Linked DNA regions of Homo sapiens: region 1 is linked to region 2. The links are contacts of gene promoters, found by promoter capture Hi-C in human tissues and cell types (Jung and others, 2019). All regions are on one chromosome and are shown on one strand. The core of a region is centred on a gene start or on the middle of the fragment in contact, and the rest is flanking DNA. Distances in the headings are between cores, read along the strand shown.

What was found. Contacts are between HindIII fragments. The study calls those that stand out against the background at their distance.
Region 1: a fragment that was not itself captured here is called in contact with the fragment with the promoter of ANKRD9 in region 2 in 1 of the 25 tissues and cell types used here (hippocampus).

What each region holds. Positions count from the first base shown.
Region 1 is chr14:102,372,439-102,376,715 of GRCh38, reverse strand. It overlaps TECPR2 (tectonin beta-propeller repeat containing 2), which reads right to left. Exons shown (of 20, transcript NM_014844.5): 2 at 1-66. The region is part of intron 1 of LOC124903389 (a long non-coding RNA gene); the gene reads left to right. It also overlaps the pseudogene LOC124903440. Among named protein-coding and RNA genes, the nearest start is that of TECPR2, 12 kb to the right of the region's middle. RefSeq lists enhancers at 1,218-1,287, 1,318-1,377. The HindIII fragment of the contact is 8,045 bases long and covers 1-4,277 here.
Region 2 is chr14:102,507,935-102,511,722 of GRCh38, reverse strand. It overlaps ANKRD9 (ankyrin repeat domain 9), which reads left to right and starts at 1,947. Exons shown (of 4, transcript NM_152326.4): 1 at 1,947-2,194; 2 at 2,877-3,082; 3 at 3,174-3,248; 4 at 3,781-3,788. LOC105370679 (a long non-coding RNA gene) reads right to left here and starts at 1,680. Exons shown (of 4, transcript XR_007064352.1): 1 at 172-1,680. RefSeq lists enhancers at 1-583, 584-1,229, 1,230-1,873 and silencers at 1,354-1,403, 1,564-2,003, 2,998-3,159. The HindIII fragment of the contact is 3,197 bases long and covers 1-3,156 here.

The DNA.
Region 1 (4,277 bases), core at 1,008-3,507, 140 kb after region 2:
GGTTTCCACAGACTATCTTCACGCAGGAAAAGGAATGTTTATTTGTCATCTAGGGAAACCTGGGGGCTACAGAACAAAGCATTACAATCCTTTCAATGCCTAGTCATGGCAAAAAGAAGTATGTTTAATACTGGCAACATGGAACTTTTAGGCAGGTAAACATTATAGCTGGAGCTTAAATAAACAGGGAAAGTAAACACGTGTCACTAAGATCACTTTTGAGCATTTTAACTCAAAATGCACTTCAGTATGTTCTGACCTCTATGATTTATGTTGTAGTGAATGCCATGGAGGAGTGGAAAGAATACAAAAAACAAAACAGTTCTTACTCCCAAGTAGCTTATGATCTAGACAGGGAGGCAGATGAAATAGTGAAAAGACACAAATCCACAAGTAATGAGGTGATAATTTGTGGGTTTTCATGAGGAGAGAGAGATCAGTGGGGATTAGAGTGAGTGTAGACATGGCTTCACTGAACACATCCTGAACTATGAAGCCCACCAGGTTGGACAGGATATGGAAAAGAGAAACAGGAAAGACACTCTATTAGGAGAATAGTGGGCCAATCTCAGATGCAGATATGCTGGCTGTGTTAATGAGATGGTGAAGAACAGGTGCCCTGGCCTGGTTGGATGCCCACAGCCTCCTCAGCGCTCAAGAGTCCAGCCACACAGCACCTTACTCTGTTCCACATGGAGACCCACCCACTTGCACTTTGGCTTCAAAGCTTCCCTTACTAAAGATATGCAACCCTTCCATGCACGCCATCTTTCACAAAGTGCTCACTCACTGATTTAATCCTGACCCTACCTTATAAGGCAGGTAGCATCATCCCTAACTTTTAGAAGGGACTGGGGGCCAGAGGGTCATGAGACTCACTCAAGATCAAACAGCCGAGACTTGACTCTAGGTCTTTTCCCTCCAAGTCCTAGGCTCTTGACAACAGCACAGTCACAGCTCTGACAGGCAGGCTGTAACAGTCCAGGTAGATGCTCTGTACCTGATTACACCTGGAGGGATATTTTAGCTCTACAGGTTCTATGGAGACTTCCAAGCTCCTCTCACAGAAACTTCTTGCATCATGGATTTATGGTCTCTTTGAACTGTAGGTTTTCTATTTCTACATAGTGGACTGACCAACTTCCAGTCCCTCTTCTGATCAAATTAATCCAGCTCGTTCTCACCCCAGGGCCCTTGCATTGGCTGTTCCGTCCACTTGGAATGTTCTTTCTCTACTGAGCTCTTCCTCCTTCTCAATTGTGCCCTCTTTCATGAGGCCGTACTTGATTTCTCCTCCCCCTACTGAGTTCTCTCTCTGTCACCTCTCCCAGTTTTACTTTCTCTACACAGCCCCTTTCTTCTTTTTTTTTGAGACACAGTCTCACTCTGTGACCCAGGCTGGAAAGCAGTAGCAAGATCATGACTCACTGACGCCTCAAACTCCTGGGCTCAAGTGAACCTCCTGCCTCCACCTCCCACGTAGCTGGGACTACAGGAATATGCCACCATGCCTGGCTAATTTTTAAATTATTTTGTAGAGATGAGGTCTCGCTGTGTTGCCCAGGCTGGTCTCAATCATGGCTTACTACAGCCTCAAGCTCCTGGGCTCAAGAGATCCTCCCATCTCAGCCTCCCAAAGTGCTTGGATTACAGGTGTGAGCCACCGTGTCCGGCCTATCCACACATCTCCTTTCTTTTCTCTGACTGGTTATCTGCCTGCCTGCCACTCTGACACACACACTAGTCTGTAAGGCCCATAACAGCAGAGCCCATATCTGCCTCACTCACCCCTCTTCCCCCCGCAGGGAGAAAAGGGCTAGGCACATCAGAGGCATTCAGCAAGTATTTGTTGCATAAATGAATGAATGATGAAACAGAAAATTTGGCCCAGGAACAGTGGCTTATGCCTGTAATCCTAGTGCTTTGGGAGGCCAAGGTGGGAGAACTGCTTGAGACCAGGAGTTCACAACCAGCCTGGGCAACATAGCAAGACTCCCGCCTCAACAAAAAATATTTTTAAAAATTAGTCAGGCATGGTGCTACATGCCTGTAGTCCTAGCTACTCATGAGGCTGAGGTGGGAAGATCACGCTTTTAAAACAAATATTTCATTTTAAAAAATAGAGAGGGTTTCACTATGTTGCCTAGGCTGGTCTCCAACTCCTGGGCTCAAGTGATCCTTCCTCCTCAGCTTCCCCAAGTGCTGGGATTACAGGTATGAGCCACTGCACTCAGCCAGGAAGATCACTTGAGCCTAGGAATTTGAGGCTGCAGTGAGCTATGACTGTGTCACTGCACTCTAGCCCGAGTGACAGAGTGAGACACTGTCTCTTAAATGAATAAATAAATAAAAGGAAAATATGCAAGGAAGGAATGAGTGACAAGAACAGAAGAACAAAGGCTGTGCTTTCTGGGATCATTTCTATAGTTCATTACTAGAGAAGTTTCTCTGAATGTGTAGAGCAAAAGAAAAAATATTAAATATAAAATTCTAAAAAATGGAATGGAAGAGCAGCAAAGTATCATTTTTTCTTCAATATGACCCCAATTCAATGCTGGAATAATAATTCCCTAAATCTGTATAGCATATCCAGTTTTCCAAGCATTTTTAGATTCTATTTCTTTTCTTTTTTTTTTTTTTTTTTGAGACAGAATCTCGCTCTGTCCCCCAAGCTGGAGTGCGGTGGTGCGATCTCGGCTCACTGCAACACTCGCCTCCTGGGTTCTTCTGCCTCAGCCTCCCGAGTAGGTGGGACTACAGGCGTGTGCCACCAAGCCCGGATAATTTTTATATTTTTTAGTAGAGATGGGGGTTTCCCCATATTGGCCAGGCTGGTCTCGAACTCCTGACCTCATGATCTGCCCATCTGAGTCTCCCAAAGTGCTGGGATTACAGGTGTGAGCCATCGCGCCCAGCCTTAGATTCCCATTTCATCTGACAGTCACAATAGCCAATACAGGCAGAACATATCCACGTATGAGAACTTTCTTAAAGGTAAGTAAATAACAATAATAATAATAATTGCATTCCTCTGTGATACTTAAGAACCCAATCCACCCTCTTTTGCAGTAATAATAATGGGAATAGCTAATGTTTTTACAGATGCTCCTCAACTTACAATGGGGTTATGTCCCAATAAAACCGTCATAAGCTGAAAAGATAAGTCACAATACATTTAATACACCTAACCTGCCGAACATCTTAGCTTAGCCTAGCCTAACTTAAATGTGCTTAGAATACTTATGTTAGCCTACAGCTGGGCAAAATCATCTAATCAAAGCCTATTTTATCACAAAGTGTTGCATATCTCATGTAATTTATTTAATACCATATTGAAAGTGAAAAACAGAATGGTTGTATGGTTACTGGAAATACAGTTTCTACTGAATGGTATCGTTTTCGCTCAATCTTAAAGTCAAAAAATAGTAAGTTGAAACTCTGTAAGTTGAAAACCGTCTGTACTTAATACAAACTGTTCTTAGCACACAAACCCATTAAATCCTCACCAAAAAGAAAGAAAAAAAAAACAAACATGAAGTAGGCATCATAGTTACTTCCATTTTTTTTTCCTGCAATCCCCAAACATTAGACATGAATGTTACCTCCACTTCATGGATGCAGAAACTTCTTATTCTTCTTTCCAAGGCACAGAAATAGTAAAAGGCTTTGTTTCCTTAAAGAGTGCATACATACATACTCATACACACATTGATGTGCCATAATTTATTTAACTTTTTAAAAATAAAGGTTTCTTTTTATAACAGTTATAAATGCTCACTATCAAAAAGTTGCTTTTTTTTTTGAGACTTGCTCCGTCGCCCATGCTGGAGTGCAGTGGCATGATCTTGGCTCACTGCAACCTCCGCCTCCTGGGTTCAAGTGATTCTTGTGCCTCAGCCTCCCGAGTAGCTGGGATTACAGGTGCCTGCCACCAGGCCTGGCTAATTTTTGTATTTTTAATAGAGATGGGGTTTCACCATGTTGATCATGCTGGTCTTGAACTCCTGATCTCAGGTGATCCACCCACCTTGGCCTCCCAAAGTGCTAGGATTACAGGCTTGAGCTACCACGCCCAGACTTGCTGGGATTACAGGTATGAACCACCATGCCCGGCCTCAAAAATTTGTTAATATAGAAAAGCACAAAGAAGGCTGGGCGCGGTGTCTCACACCTGTAAACCCCAGCACTTCAGGAGACTGAGTCAGGGCGGATCACCTGAGGTTGGGAGTTCAAAACCAGCCTGACCAACATGGAAAAACCCCATCTCTACTAAAAAT
Region 2 (3,788 bases), core at 698-3,197:
TTCCACCAGTAGCCATGGAGACGGCTGTATCTCAACTCCAGCCTTCGAAGAGGGCAAGAGAGCAGGGGAGCCTTGAGCCACAGACAGCCCACATGGGCACCATCTCCCCAAGATGTCCCCCAGGGTTTGGGCTCCCAAAGGCCGATTGTTGACTCCAGGACCTTCACTCACTTTGCTCTCCCCACCATCGTACTCAGAGGCATCCAGAACCGGCAGATGGGAGAAGCCCTAGGGAGATAGGCCTAGATACAGGAGGAGACATGTGGAGCTGAGGCAAAGGCGGGTGCGGATGCCAGGCCCAGTGCCCTCTATACCCCTACTCCTGCTGACAACCTGGCTGCTGTAAGCTTGGCAGTTGCCATGGACTCCCTGGGAGAGATGGCGTGGCCTGGAACGTCCCCCGCCCTGAGGTGGGGCAGGGCTGGTGGGGTCTGGTCATCCCCCTGGTGGGTCCATGCATGGCAGCCTGGGCAGGATACATGTGAGTGCCTACCTGGGCTGGGGTGGCCTGACCCTCTCTGGGCCTCACAGCTTTGTCTGCCTCATGGTACTGTCCACCTGGCCTCTCAGGACTGCTCTGTGGCGTGTGTGCTTAAGGGATTGAGCTCGTTGGGCTGGGGACAGAGGCCTGCCTAGGTCTGTTGAGAGGGCCCAGGTAAGACTTCCACCCAGACTGACTGGCTGGGGCACACAGAGAAGCCAGGACAGGGCTGATTGTGTGTGCAGGGGCGTGCCCTCTGGACGAGGCCCCTCCCACCGGGGCGAGGCAGAGGCCTTGCTTGGTTGGAGCGGAGTGGGGGAGTGGGAGGGTCTCCCTGGTGAGATAGTACTGGAAGGGCAGGGACAGCATTCTAGGGAAGGAACCAGAAAGAGCCCCTGCATGGAATGTGGGGATTTCACCATGAGACCCCGGCTGCCTGGCCTCTGAGAACGTGTGTGGGGGGATTCCAGGTGGAAGGTCGTGTCTGGGAGGATGGGTGGGGGGTTGAGCAGTCATTGCCCCTCTCCAGATCTGCGTCCACATCTGTAAAATGGGCCTAGAATTCCCAGCCGCTGGGGGCGAGTGAGGCCATAAATTAGTTGAGATGGACCCAGGCTCCTAAGCCCCCTAGGTCATGACCCCAAACCTTGGAACCCCCGACGGAGACGGTGGGGGTGGCCGAGGCCCAATCGAATCTATCCCGCCCAGATGTGGGAAGAACCGCAGGGCAAACCCCCGGCTTCCCTCCTGGCCGCTCCTCTCTTTGAGGCCACCTCTCTGAGCCCTGATTTGCTGGCGGGTGAACTGGGGATCATCGTGTCCACTGTGGCTGGTGGTCGTGAAACGAAGTGGAAACATGAGTGTTGAGGCCGAGATGGGCGCAGTGCGCGCTCCTAAACAGCTGTCCCCATCCGTCCGCCCCTCCCTCCCTTGCGCGGGTCAGCTGGAGCGGGGGCGCGCCAGGCACGACCCTGGCCGGGCAGAAGGCGGTGGAGCCCTTAGGGGTCGCGGCTCCTACCCCCGGCCCTCCCATGTGCAGATGGGGTAGCAGCCTGGAGGTTTTTCCCAAGGTCACGTAAGGTCAAAGAAAAGGGGAGCTGGACGCGACGAGGAAAGTCACGCACGGCGGAGGGCGGGCCACCTACGCGCGCGCCCGAGTTCGCAGAGCAGCGGCGCCCTCCCGGGCTAGGGCAGCTCGGAGCTCGGAGCCTTTCTTCGCCCGCAGCTCGGGTTCCGGGAGCCCCGCCCCCGCCCATCAACGCCCCGCCCCTTTCGCCACGGCCCCGCCCCTCCTCTCCGTTCTCCCCGCCGGCGCTCCCTCAAGTTTCTCCGAAGTTTTCCGCGGGTCCAGCGGTGCGCCCCGCCCGCCGGCCAGTGACGTAACAATGGTGCAGCGCGGCGGCCAATGGGTGGTGGCGGGGGCCGGCGGCGCGGGCCAATGGCGGCGGCGGACGGTCCCGCTGTCCTGCCTGGCCGGGGCCGCACTGCGCCGCCCGCCGCCCGCCGCCCGCCGCCCGCCGCCGGCGACGGCACCGCCGCCCTGCGATCCGGCCGCGGCGGCTCAGAGCGCGGCTGCGGCGGGCGCGGGCGGCGGTGGCTCCCTCCCGTGCGTCCGTCGTGGGACCTTTGCCCGCTCGCCCGCGGGGGACAGCGCGCGCTCCGGTCCGCGGCAGGGGCGGGGACGCCCGGCCTGTGGCCCCCGCGCCCCCCATGGTGAGTCCCCGTCCCCCGCGCCGCGCCCGCGGCCGCCGCCCCCTCCTCCTCCGGCACACGCGCACGCAGGTGCAGCCCTCGCTGCGCCGGCCACCTGCGCGCGGACGCCCCGCTCGGCCCCGCGACCCTCCGCCGCCCGACGTCTGGCCGTGCAGGCCGGGAGGGGACGGGTAGGAGGTGGCGGGTGGCCCCGGGCGCGGCGCTGCCTTCGATGGCCCAACCCCCTTATTCACGAGCCGCGGCCGTGACTCTGCCCGGTGACGTGGGGAGGCCGAACTTTACGTAACCCGCCCGGCGCCCCACGCGTGCCGGCACAGGGCATATCTGGGGCCCGGAGGCCCAGGCTTGGGGAAGGGGCTCCAGTCACGGTGTTGCCCACGGGCCACAGCCTACCCGCACCGCGCCGCTCTCTTTAACTCAGTTACTGCCAGTGATAGTGACCCAGTCAGTGTGTGTGGACGCGGCCTGCCTTCTGTCCCAGGCCCCTTGTGACCAAGGGCTTACCCTTGAAAGAAGGCAGTAGGGAGGTTGGGACGGAGCCAGAGGTCAGACGCCTAGGCTCAGGTCGGGGCTGGGGACTCAGAGGGCAGGGTCAGGGCCTAAGCTCGATTGCCTGTGGGTTGGGGGTCCCCACCAATTCTGGAATGAGCCCAAACTGAGACGCAGGGGACCTGAGTTCTAGGCCTGGCTCTGCCGTGGCTTGCTGACCTTGGAGAATTGGAGAAGCTTGTGCCCTGCTGGAAAGTGGGATGGCAGTACCCGCTTCATCTAGTAGTCGGGGAGATCAAGAGAGGTATGGGACCTGAAGAGGATGGCAGACTGTGCAGTGCGGTGCACACCGGTCTCCAGGTTGTTTTCACCCTCCTATCTCCTCCCAGGAGCTAACGTGTAAGCAAACATGTTTGGATAGAGGGCTGGTGCCACGCCCCAGGCTCACCCCGCCCGCACAGCCGTCGTCCACCCCTCCCCTTTCTTACAGATAAAGCTGAGGCTCGGCCAGGGACTGTGATATACCCACATCCCCGGAACTAGGTGATCGCGGTGCAGGAACCAGGTAGGTCTGAGTCTGGATCATGCCTCTGAACAGCCCAGGAAGAGGCTCCAGGGGCCTCCAAGTGGTCTGGGGTCGGAGATCAGGGTCAGGGTTGCGCTTGGGCTGGAGAGTGGATTTGCCTCAGCTTGAGATGTGGGCCCAAGCTTTCTCATCCCCTCCCTGGCCTTTTCTTTATTTGGGGTCGTATGAACCTGGCTTAGGTGGGAACAGAAGCTCTTCCAGTGGGTCCCTGGGTTGGAGAGGGGAGGGGAGATTTGAGGGCATGGGCAGCAAGGGCATTTCCAGCAGAGGTGCCAGAGAGCAAGTCAGTTTCAAGGAGGGAGAACAGGTACAGCTAGATCAAGGATGGAGGCGGTGGTTCTGGGCGTCGGAGAGATGGAGCTGTAGGGTGACTGGAAGGGCCTGGCCGAGGCTGGAGGTAGGTACAGGCCTGGTGGGCCAGGACCGGAGGGGCTGTGTGAGGGGCAGAGGGGAGTCCCCGGGCCTCCCCAGTTTCCCCGCGCCTCACCGTGGCCTCTTCCTTTCCCCGCAGGTGTGCCT